2 separate regions of the Homo sapiens genome follow, and region 2 is linked to region 1. Evidence: promoter capture Hi-C in human tissues and cell types (Jung and others, 2019). All regions are on one chromosome and are shown on one strand. Each heading gives the region's core, a stretch centred on a gene start or on the middle of the fragment in contact. The rest is flanking DNA. Distances are from core to core; before and after follow the strand shown. Region 1 holds the start of DEF8 (differentially expressed in FDCP 8 homolog). Region 2 overlaps TCF25 (TCF25 ribosome quality control complex subunit).

The links. Contacts are between HindIII fragments. The study calls those that stand out against the background at their distance.
Region 2: a fragment that was not itself captured here is called in contact with the fragment with the promoter of DEF8 in region 1 in 2 of the 25 tissues and cell types used here (adrenal gland and pancreas).

What each region holds. Positions count from the first base shown.
Region 1 is chr16:89,946,137-89,951,939 of GRCh38, reverse strand. DEF8 (differentially expressed in FDCP 8 homolog) reads right to left here and starts at 3,185. Exons shown (of 13, transcript NM_001242818.2): 1 at 3,126-3,185; 2 at 2,427-2,523. RefSeq lists a silencer at 3,056-3,155 and an enhancer at 3,836-4,175. The HindIII fragment of the contact is 40,323 bases long and covers 1-5,803 here.
Region 2 is chr16:89,879,842-89,885,644 of GRCh38, reverse strand. TCF25 (TCF25 ribosome quality control complex subunit) reads right to left here. Exons shown (of 18, transcript NM_014972.3): 2 at 2,133-2,294; 3 at 989-1,063. Among named protein-coding and RNA genes, the nearest start is that of TCF25, 9.2 kb to the right of the region's middle. RefSeq lists a cis regulatory region at 3,068 and enhancers at 2,984-3,153, 5,471-5,803. The HindIII fragment of the contact is 6,115 bases long and covers 1-5,379 here.

The DNA.
Region 1 (5,803 bases), core at 1,936-4,435:
CACCACTGCACTCCAGCCTGGGCAACAGAGCGAGACTCCATATCAAAAAAAAAAAAAATCTTTTTTACATAAATATGTATGTGTGTGTATATACATATATATGTGTGTGTGTGTATACATACATATGAGAAAAAAGAAAAGACTTCTGAGAATTGTCCTTAAAGGTAGGGGCTGCCCCTCTTCAGCCATCCCTGCCTCCTGCTGCCTGGAATGCAGATGTAAAGGCTGCAGCTGGAATAGCCACACTGGGGAGAGTGACGTGATTGCAGGGGACTGCACCTGAGCCCTAAGCTGCTCACAGCCAGACTTCATTCAAGTGAGAGAAATACGATATTCCCACCAGTGTTATAGGGGAGGTTTTTGTCTCTTGCGGCCAAAGTAGATTCTGACTGAAAGACCCAGCTCGGTGGCTCACGCCTGTAATCCCAGCACTTTGGGAAGCAGAAGTGGGCTGATCACCTGAGGTGAGCAGTTCGAGACCAGCCTGGCCAACCTGGTGAAACCCCGTCTCTACCAAAAATACAAAAATTAGCCGGGCGTGGTGGTGGGCATCTGTAATCCCAGCTACTTGGGAGGCTGAGGCAGGAGAATCGCTTGAACCCAGGAGGTGAGCCGAGATTGAGCCACTGCACTCCAGCTTGGGTGACAGAGTGAGACTCCATCTCAGAAAAAAAAAAAAGAAAAGATTCTGACTGATGATCCCAATAGTTTCATGGTAACAAGACAGACACGTCCAGCTTGAATCCCAACTCTGCTAGCTCCTAGCTGTGTGACCTTGGGTAAGTGGATAAACGTTTCTCTGCCTCCATTCTCCCATGTCTCAAATGGGGATTACAATAGTACCATACAGGGTTATTGTCAAGATTAAAGTAGTTAATACTAAGTTCAGAGAACACTGGCCGGCACATAGTAAGCACCCAATAAATATTGATTATAATTTATCATTATTACTTTTTTTTGAGACAGGGTGTTGCTCTGTCACCCGAGCTGGAGTGCAGTGGTGCGATCACAGCTCACTGCAGCCTCAAACTCCTGGGCTGAAGGGGTCCTCCCATATTAGCCTCCCAAGTAGCTGGAACTCCAGTGTGTGCCACCACACTCAGCTAATTTTTTTTAACTTTTTGTAGAGACGGAGTCTCACTCTGATGCCCAGGCTGGTCTCAAACTCCTGGCTTCAAGCAACCCTCCTGCCTCTGCCTCCCAAATTGCTGGGATTATAGGTGTGAGCTACCATGCCTGGCCTATTACTGTTATTTTTAAGAATCATGGCCGGTGTGTGGTGGCTCACTTTGGGAGGCTGAGGCGGGTGGATCATTTGAGGTCAAGAGTTCAAACCAGCCTGACCAACATGGTGAAACCCCGTCTGTACTAAAAACACAAACAAATTAGCTGGGCATGGTGGTGCATGCCTGTAATCCAGCTACTTGGGAAGCTGAGGCAGGAGAATCACTTGAACACGGGAGGTGGAGGTTGCAGTGAGCCGAGATTGTGCCACTGCACTCCAGCCTAGGCAACACAGCAAAACTCCATCTCAAAAAAAAAAAAAAAATCAGCCCTGATTTAGACTCTGGTTCTCCATTGTCTTGCCTATAAATCAGGGGGAACACCTACTTTCTGGGGTGGATGGAAGGGCTAAGGACTTGTTTATGATGTCAGTGAAGCCAGGAGCCCAGAGCTGCTCAGAACAGACTGGCACTGTCATCACATATGGTGACCAGCCCAGGAAAAAGGTGCAGGAGCTACGCCTGGGGAAGCCGCTGGAAACCTCCTGGTGTTTAAAACATGGCCAGAGGAGCGTCAAGGAAGGCACGCTGGCAGGGACACCTCCGTTCTGCCCAGCAGCTGTACTCTAGGCTACCAGCTCTCCTCCGGGCTGTGAAAAAAGGCATCTTTTATTTGCCTATTTACTGACAGTCAGTGCCAGCCCCAGGCCTGGCGCACGGGCAGGGGATGAATGAGGGGAGGCCGCTGGCCTCGCAGCCTTAGCTTCTGCTCACACAGACCTGGGGATGCCGGCCACAGTGGCCGACTCTGAGCAGAACGCCAGCCTGCCCCTCTCACCAGGCTCACCCCACCAGTTCTGCACCCAGATGTGGGACTTGGCCTCAGAAAGGAGCGGGCAGGAAGTGGAAGAGTGAAAGCAAGAGGTCTGGCCACCCCCTGCCCCTCCTCTAGAGCCCACTGCTCTCATCGGGGAGGACCCCACAACTTAGCAATGAAAGGAAGCCGAAGAAAGCCGGCGGGGTTCCGGGGCACGGAGGGACCCTGGGCCGAAGCTCAGGACACGCGGGATGCACGGACCTGGCCTCCCGCGTCCTGCCCGCGGCGTGACCACCAGGAAGCGGTGTCATCACTGCAGCTGCCACCCCGAGAACCTGAGAAGTCACCCCGGTGTGCGGAGTCAACAGCGTCCTGTCTGCCCATACCTGCATCGCCTGCCAGGGCCCAGGGGCTCGCAGGGACAGGATGGCCATTCCTCTAGGGCTGCTGGCCACGGAAGCCTGGCCGTGGGTTCGGCACCTGCTGCAGGGAGAAGCCACCCCAGCACTGTGCCTCCCCACCCACCACACCCGCGGGAGCTCGCCCGGTCTCCCGGGCTCCTCGGGGGCAGGTCTCTCCCACCCACCCGTTCCACCGAGGGGGAAACTGAGGCTCGGAGCAGCCCAGGGCGGGGGCACGGCCACGCGGGTCCCCTGAGCCGCCCGGGTGCTCCGCACGCAGCTGGTGTGGACGCCGGAGCAGCGGCGGCGTCCCCGGGGTGGGGCGGCCGAGGTCTCGAGGCCCCTGCGCCGGGCGGGCCGCCCTCCCAGCCCCGTCCCCGCCGGCCCCGACCTCGCCGGCCCCGTCCCCGCCGGCCCCGTCCCCGCCGGCCCCGTCCCTCCCAGCCCCGACCCCGCCGACCCCGTCCCCGCCGGCCCCGTCCCTCCCAGCCCCGACCCCGCCGGCCCCGTCCCCGCCGGCCCCGTCCCCGCCGGCCCCGTCCCTCCCAGCCCCGTCCCCGCCGACCCCGTCCCCGCCGGCCCCGTCCCTCCCAGCCCCGACCCCGCCGACCCCGTCCCCGCCGGCCCCGTCCCCGCCGGCCCCGTCCCCGCCGGCCCCGACCCCGCCGGCCCCGCGCCGCTCACCTGACCGCCGCCTCGCATCTGTCTCCCGGCTGCGCTGGATCCGCCCGGCCGCCCCGCTACGCTGGATCCAGCCCCGCGCTCGCTGCTGCCGCCTCCGGCGCGGAGGTTCATGGCACGCGGGTCGCGAGTCTGCGAGCCCCGGAGTCCGCCCGGCTGTTCCGCGGGCCTGACCTGGGGCTGCGCGTCCTGGGTTTCCTCTCATCGCAGAAGGCCTGTGGCTGAAACCCAAACCCCAACACGTTTAAAAAAAATGGGCGGGCGCGGCGGCTCACGCCTGTCATCCCAGCGCTTCGGGAGGCCGAGGCGGGCGGATCGCGAGGTCAGGAGATCGAGACCATCCTGGCTAACACGGTGAAACCCCGTCTCCACTAAAAATACGAAAAATTAGCCGGGCGCGGTGGCGGGCGCCTGTAGTCCCAGCTACGCGGGAGGCTGAGGCGGGAGAACGGCGTGAACCCGGGAGGCGGAGCTCGGAGTGAGCCGAGATCGCACCACTGCACTCCAGCCTGGGCGACAGAGCGAGACTCCGTCTCAAAAAAACAAAAAGGGTGGCTTTTAACACTTTTTTTAACCTCAGTGGTTGAGGAGGAAAAAGGAACAGAGAACCACCGTGTGCAGGTGCCGCCAGCCACCTGCAGGGCCCCGCGGGGGCTTCACGGCTGCAGAGGGAGGGACCCGGCGCGGCTCTACCCTCTTTACACAGGAGGACGCGCCACACTGCGCTCAGGAGGCTGCTCCATGCAGGCGCCGGGCAGCGGGACTTCGGAGGCAGCTGGTGTCCGCGGGCCCTGGCGTTATTCCTGCTTTCCCGTTGTTTACACACAGAGCAGGCCTGCTGCTCCCCGCCCCCGTATCCCTACTCTTAGGCTTCTCGCGTGGAAGATTCAGCTGCCCCCGCTTGTGCCCGCAGGGAGGAGCTGAGGACAGATGAAGGCCAGCATATGCGCCTGGTGCGCTTGCCCTGAGCTCGCGGGCTCAGTTTACCCTCCCTGCAGAAAGGTGTGGTTTTGGCTGCCTCTGGGGCTTGGTCCACTTTGTTCAGTGGGCATGGTGATGACAGTGCCAGTAACTGGAGGCCTCCCAAGTGGGAGCCACACACCACCTTGCAGAGACCAGCTCGGTCGGGGAGACCCTAACCCGGCAGCGCTAGAGGAACTAAAGACACACACACACAGAGATAGAGAGGTGTGGAGTGGGAAATCAGGGGTCTCACAGCCTTCAGAGCTGACAGCCTCGAACAGAGACTTACCCACGTATTTATTAACGGCAAACCAGTGATAAGCATTGTTTCTGTAGATATTAGACTAACTAAAAGTATCCCTTATGGGAAACGAAGGGATGGGCCAAGATAAAGGGATGGGTCTGGCTAGTTACCTGCAGCAGGAGCATGTCCTTAAGGCACAGATCGCTCACGCTATTGTTTGTGGCTTAAGAATGCCTTTAAGCAGTTTTCCGCCCTGGGTGGGCCAGGTGTTCCTTGCCCTCATTCTGGTAAACCCACGACCTTCCAGCGTGGGCGTCATGGCCGTCATGAACATGTCACAGTGCTGCAGAGATTTTGTTTATGGCCAGTTTTGGGACCAGTTTATGGCCAGGTTTTGGGGGGCGTGTTGCCAACACCATCTCATTTAACCCTACGGAAGCCTGGGGGCCAGCAGTCACCTACAGGACAGGCAACTCCATCGGCCCCCCCAAGGCCACATCGCTCAGAAAGGGTGCAGTGAGATTCCACCCCAGCTTAGGGTGGCTTCGGACGCCGTGTCCCTCCATGCACTCAGACCTGGAGGGAGACTGCCCTGAGCCGCCGCTCTATCTGCTGCTTCAAGGTCCCCAGTCCTAGAGATTCCACGTCCACCTGGCCTCTCTCCCAGCTCCTCCTTCTGGAAAGGCCTTCCCCATCTCAGCTCCCACCTGGGCCCCACAGTACATCCTCAGCCTGGCAGTGAGAGGGACCCTGGGAAGAAGTCGGCCCCCACCTTCACCTCCTGGCTCCTCTCCCCAACAGGCCAGGCCCACCCCCACCCCCACCTTCACCTCCTGGCTCGTCTCCCCAACAAGCCAGGCCCACCCCCACCGGGGCCCCTGCCTGGCTGAGCCTCTGTGGAGCAGTCCTCCCCAGTAACCCCAACACCTCCTCCTTGCCTCTGCTCAGCAGTCCTCAGTGATCTCTGGGAGGCAGGGCCCTTCCCCTCACTCACTCACCTTCTCCCTAATCACTCGTCACTGTCTGATGTCTTCGGTTTTGCACATTTTTCTTTATTATTTCTGCCCCCCAGCCCCAACCACCAGAAGCAAAGAGCCGTAGGCAGCATTTTGTTGGCCTTCTTTGCTGCTTAATGGCCAGTGCCTGGACACAGAGGGTGCTTCCTTGCATGGACTGAGAAAGGAATGGGTCCCCGGTTGAGGCTGGCCCTGAGAGGAAGGAGGTTCCTCCCAGCAGGTGGCCCACTGCCCAAATGCATGTTAGAACCGGTTGTGGATCTGAACCAGTGTCTACAGAAGCAATGGGAACCCTCCTCCAAGGAGAGACAAAGATAAACCCACACTCTACACGCAGTTTAAGGTCTACTTTCTTAATCAGAATGTGTTGGCCAGGCGCGGTGGCTCATGGCTGGAATCCCAGCACCTTGAGAGGCCGAGGTGGGAGGATTGCTTGAGCCCAGGAATTTGAGGCTGCA
Region 2 (5,803 bases), core at 1,073-3,572, 65 kb after region 1:
CACAGAACCAGAAGGACCCTAGAAAAAACTGGGCATTCCACATCACACTGGTGTGCTCACCTCCTCAGGCAAACAGGGTTGGGACTTGTGGCTCCAACTAAACGGCAACAAAGCTACACCCTTGTCTCAGGACACAGTCAGACGAGGACGAAGGGCAATGATGAAAACATATTTTTTTCTGATGACAGACTAGCTCCAGTGGAGGGTTCTGTACCCACCATGCAATTAACCCATAAGCATGGGACAGATGTCAGGGCAAACAGCAAGTGTCCCACGGGTCACAGGAGCACCAGAACTAGAAGGGATGTCCCCATCAGATCACACATTCCCACAGAGACACAGAGCAGAGCGCCAACCAGTCGAGGAACAAGGGTAAAAACAAGAAGCAGCATTTAGAAAGTAACTTTCCCTTTTCTTTTTCCCTGATCTCTTAGTTATACTCCTAATAGGAAGGAATAAAAATACTAAGTAAGCTTCTTTCAACACCACCTTGGAAAACAGCCAGAAGAGAATGGAGAGAGCGTCAGGCAGAGGGAGAGGGCGTCAGGCAGAGGGAGAGGGCGTCAGGCAGAGGGAGAGGGCGTCAGGCAGAGGGAGAGGGGCGTCAGGCAGAGGGAGAGGGCGTCAGGCAGAGGGAGAGGGCGTCAGGCAGACGGAGAGGGCGTCAGACAGAGGGAGAGGGGCGTCAGGCAGAGGGAGAGGGCGTCAGGCAGAGGGAGAGGGCGTCAGGCAGAGGGAGAGGGGCGTCAGGCAGAGGGAGAGGGGCGTCAGGCAGAGGGAGAGGGCGTCAGGCAGACGGAGGGCGTCAGACAGAGGGAGAGGGCGTCAGGCAGAGGGAGAGGGCGTCAGGCAGAGGGAGAGGGCGTCAGGCAGAGGGAGAGGGCGTCAGACAGAGGGAGAGGGCGTCAGGCAGAGGGAGAGGGCGTCAGGCAGAGGGAGAGGGGCGTCAGGCAGAGGGACAGAGCACAGCCAGGCCCAACTCACGTACCGATGCTTCTCCCGTGCTGCTTTTCTTGTTTTTCTGTTTTTTTTTCTTCTTCCGGAGTTTGCCACTTGCATGAGACTAATGATAGAAACACATTTTCATCAGTAGAATGAGAAGTAAATCTTAAGAAGTGAGAATTAAAGCAGCAAGCGTGACTCCACCCTCACCTAAGCAGCCCCTACCTCTCCCTCCGTGTCCCAAAAGTTCCTTCAACTCACTCTCTTCTCTCCAGCAGGCACCTTCCCACCTCTCCGAGCCCCTCGGGCTGTGCTACAGCAGTCCCCAGGGCCTTCTGTGTCCAGCCTCACAGGCTCACAGGACCCTGACCAGGTCCAGCTCTCATTCCTCCCTGTGTCGGCCACTCCCTGCCACACTGCAGCCACCCTGAAGACGGGGGCCTTGCTGTGCCCTGGCCGCCTCACACCGCACCTGTATGTGTGGTCCCCTACGCCTGCACCTGGCCAACCCCTTCTGACAGTAGGAAGGCTCCTCAGGAAGCCCCCAGGACCCTGAGCCTCAAGTCAGGACCCACCTGTCACTTCACATGTATGTTGCCCTCCCAACCAGAGGCTCCTGGGGGGCAAAGGCACGTTCCCAGCACCCAGCAAGCTCCCAAGAACACTTGTTGGATAAATGAACACAAGCTCTCCTTTTAGGGCCCCTCTTCTGTGCTGTGGAGCACAGCAGCAGGCTGTCTGCATCTCTGCCCATCCCACGTTAACCTGACCTGCATGTTTCTTCAAAGTTCACTTACACCAGCACCCAGATCCACAACCCAGCCAAGCAAACGTTCGGGGCACAGTTAGGAAGGACACACGTGCGCGGTCGGCTAGGAGGCACACACGTGCGCGGTCGGCTAGGAGGGACACACGTGCGCGGTTGGCTAGGAGGGACACACGTGTGCGGTTACATACACTGCTGGGCAGGCGCAGACTCTCCTGAGATGCAGGAGAAAGGCCTGCGACCTTCACTCATTTCATGCAAATCTCATCAAGGTTCCCAAGTAAATTTGGGGGCAACTAGCAGGTAACCAAAATGGAACTCGGAAAATTACACCTCCAAGGAAAATCACAGCACAGGATACACGTGGCTGGGTGCCTTGGAACTCTCCCGTCTGATGCCACCTCCTCACCACTCAGCCCCCCACCTGCTCTGAGGGCACTGTCTCGGTGTCATCTCCATCCGTCTTGCTCTCTGTGTTTCCACGCTGACCCCTTCCTTTGTTCCCTGGTGCCACAGCGTCTGTGAGCGCACAGCCAGACCTCTCCCCGTTCACCACAGGGTCATCCTCAAGATCGTCAATGTTTATCTGGAAAAACAGGTTGGAGAAGAGCCAGGGCGTTACTTACAGTGTGAACGCTCATGCTGAGATATGAATAGTGAGATGTGAACGGGCTTGCGTTGGGGACCCCCAGGGTCAGTGCGAGACGCTGGACGGGAAAGATGCAAGAACCCGAGACTGTTGGACACAGCAGTGACTCAGCTCTGGCTCAGGGGGACTTTGTCAGCAGCTCTACAGAAAGCCGGGGCCCCGAGGCTATGGGGTATCTCTGCCTTCAGAGATGAGGTAAGGAAGACTCCTCAAATATTGTAATTTACTCCATTTACAGAGGACCATCTGCAGGACAAAACGTTAAATATATATATTCAGCCAATGCATTAAAGTTCCTTCTTCCTCCTTTCTCCTCAAGCCTCAGCTCCTCTCCAGCAGCAGGCAGGAAAAAAAGGCACCAAGGACCCATCAACCTACAAACTTTTCCTAATGAAAATGATAGGCCAGGCGAGGTGCTCGCGCCTGTGATCCCAGCACTTTGGGAGGTTGATGCAGGCGGATCACTTGAGGTCAGGAGTTCAAGACCAGCCTGGCCAACATGGCGAAACCCTGTCTCTACTAAAAACACAAAAATTAGCCAGGCACAGTGGCAGGAGCCTGTAATCCCAGCTACTTGGGAGGCTGAAGTGGTATAATCGTTTGAACCCGGGAGGCAGAGGTTGCTGTGAGTCAAGATCGCACCACTACCCTCCAGCCTGGGCAACAGAGCAAGACTCCATCTCAAAATAGAAAAACAAAATGACATACGATAAAAATAATTCATACGATGAAACCTTCTCTCTCTCTTTTTGAGACAGAGTCTCGCTCTGTCATCCAGGCTGCAGTGCAGCAGTGTGATCTTGGCTCACTGCAGCCTTGGCCTCCTGGGTTCAAGCATCCTCCTGCCTCAGCCTCCCAAGTAGCTGGAACTACAGGCGTGAGCTACCATGCCTGGCTAATTTTTTAAATTTTTTTGTAGAGATGGGGGTCTCAACACATTGCCCAGGCTGGTCTTGAGCTCCTGACCTCAAGCGATCCTCCTGCCTCAGCCTCCCAAAGAGCTGGAGTTACAGGCGTGAGCCACCACGCCAAGTCTGGAACCTTTTTATAGCAGTGAGAATGAATGAATGAATGAACCACCACTGAACACACAATATGGATGAATCTTAGGAGTATAATATTAAATGGATAAAACCTCACAACATACATTCACATACAGATTGGAGGGGAGACAGGCAGTGGGAGAAGGGTAAGAACAGGAAAAGTTCTGGCTCCTCAGCTAGTGAGAGGCTGACCGGGCACGGTGGCGGTGCACCCCTGTAATCCCAGCACTTTGGGAGGCCGAGGTGGGTGGATCACGAGGTCAGCAATTCAAGACCAGCCTGACCAACATGGTGAAATCCCGTCTCTACTGAAAATAAAAAAATCGGCCAGGTGCAGTGGCGCGTGCCTGTAATCCCAGCTACTCGGGAGGCCGAGGCAGGAGAATTGCTTGAATCCGGGAGGCAGAGGTTGCAGCGAGCCAAGATTATGCCACTGCACTCCAGCCTGGGTGATAAGGCGAGATTCCATTTCAAGAAAACAAAAAAAAAAGAGGCTAACAGATTGGGTGTGGTGGCTCATGCCTATAATCCCAGCGCTTTGGGAGGCTGAGGCAGGAGGATCATCTGAGCCCAGGAGCTTGAAACCAGCCTAGGCAATACAGTGAGACCCCATCTCTACAAAAAATTAGCAGGGTGTGGTGGCACACACCTCTTGAGTCCCAGCTACTCAGGCGGCTGAGGAGGACTGCGTGAGCCCAGCAGTCCTGGAATCTGGAACCTGGAGTGAGCCATGATCACACAACGGCACTCCAGCGTGGGCAACAGAGCAAGACTCTAGCTCTAAATTTTTTAAAAAAAAAGCTAACAGAGACCAGCATCAACAATTCTTTATGAACTAGGAGATTCTGATGGATCCAATCGGATGCACTAAGGTTCAAAAATAAATAAAACTGCCTGTTTAATTTAAAACATCTTGAAAACCACAAACCTCAGAAAACACAATCAGCTCCAAGCCCCATAGCCCTGAGATAGTTTCTGAAACAGAATTGAGACTCGGCTGCACCTGGGAAGACAGACACCCCGGCTGCGGTTGCTGAAGAGAAGAAAGCACAGGGCAGGTCTGTGCTTGCCGGTCAGTCGGCTTTCTCTCCAATGGAGGCTCCCACATGACAAGGATACGATTCAGGAGCATCTTAAACGCCCGCTGAGACAAGTCAGGAGCAACTTACGCCCGTTGAGAAAATCCATGGCAGTATAGACGTGTTATGTAAACAGAGCCCCTAACTTGAAAACACTGACACTCCACCAAAACGAGGTTTGTCCCATCCCAGCAGCACCATGATGGTGATTCTCATGGTGATGCCTCCTTCTGCCTGGCCTTTGCTGGCGAAGCTGGGGCCTAGGCATGGGCCGGCTGCCTTGCACCCTGCAGTAAAGGAAGAAAGCTGAAACAAAGCCTATTGTTGAAATGTTTCTAACCTGTGGGTGGTCACTGGTAAATTGGATCTACACCATCTCCAACATTCAACTAATGATGATGTCTCTTAGTGAAGCTGGGTGCTGGTTTACTTGTCTGTTTTTAGAGATAGGGTCTCACTGTGTTGCCCAGGCTGGCCTCAAATTCCTGTGGTCAAGGGATCCTCCTGCCTCAGCCTCCCCAGGAGCTGGGACTACAGGCACACGCCACAACACCCAATTTACTTTTTTTTTTTTCTTTTTTTGAGATGGAGTCTTGCTCTGTTGCCCAGGCTGGAGAGCAATCGCATGATCTTGGCTCACTGCAACCTCCGCCTCCCGGATTCAAGTGATTCTCCTGCCTCAGCCTCCCGAGTAACTGGGACTACAGGCATGTGCCGCCATGCCAGGCTAATTTTTGTATTTTTAGTACAGATGGGGTTTCATCATGTTGGCCAGGCTGGTCTCGAACTCCTGACCTCAGGTGATCTGCCCGCCTCAGACTCCCAAAGTGCTGGGATTACAGGCGTGAGCCACCGCGCCCGGCCAACACCCAATTTACTTTTATTAACTCATGCTGACTTCCTAAGAAAAAAAATTCTTATTTTGAGGTGTTTGACAAATCGAATTCATAAAAAGCTCTATGCCAAGCTGAACTTCAATGGAAAGGAGCCTGTGTACACGGACAGCACGCGTGATGGGCTCAGGAGCCTGCCTGTGTACACAGACAGCACACATGATAGGCCCGGGAGCCTGTCTGTGTACATGGACAACACGTGTGACAGGCTCTGAAGCCCATCTGTGTACACGGACAGCACGTGTGATGGGCTCAGGAGCCTGCCTGTGTACATGGACAGCACGCGTGATAGTCCTGGGATCCTGACTGTTTACAAAGACAGCACACATGATAGGCCCAGGAGCCTGTCTGTGTACACGGACAACACGTGTGACAGGCTCCGAAGCCCATCTGTGCACACGGACAACACGTGTGACAGGCCCCGAAGCCCA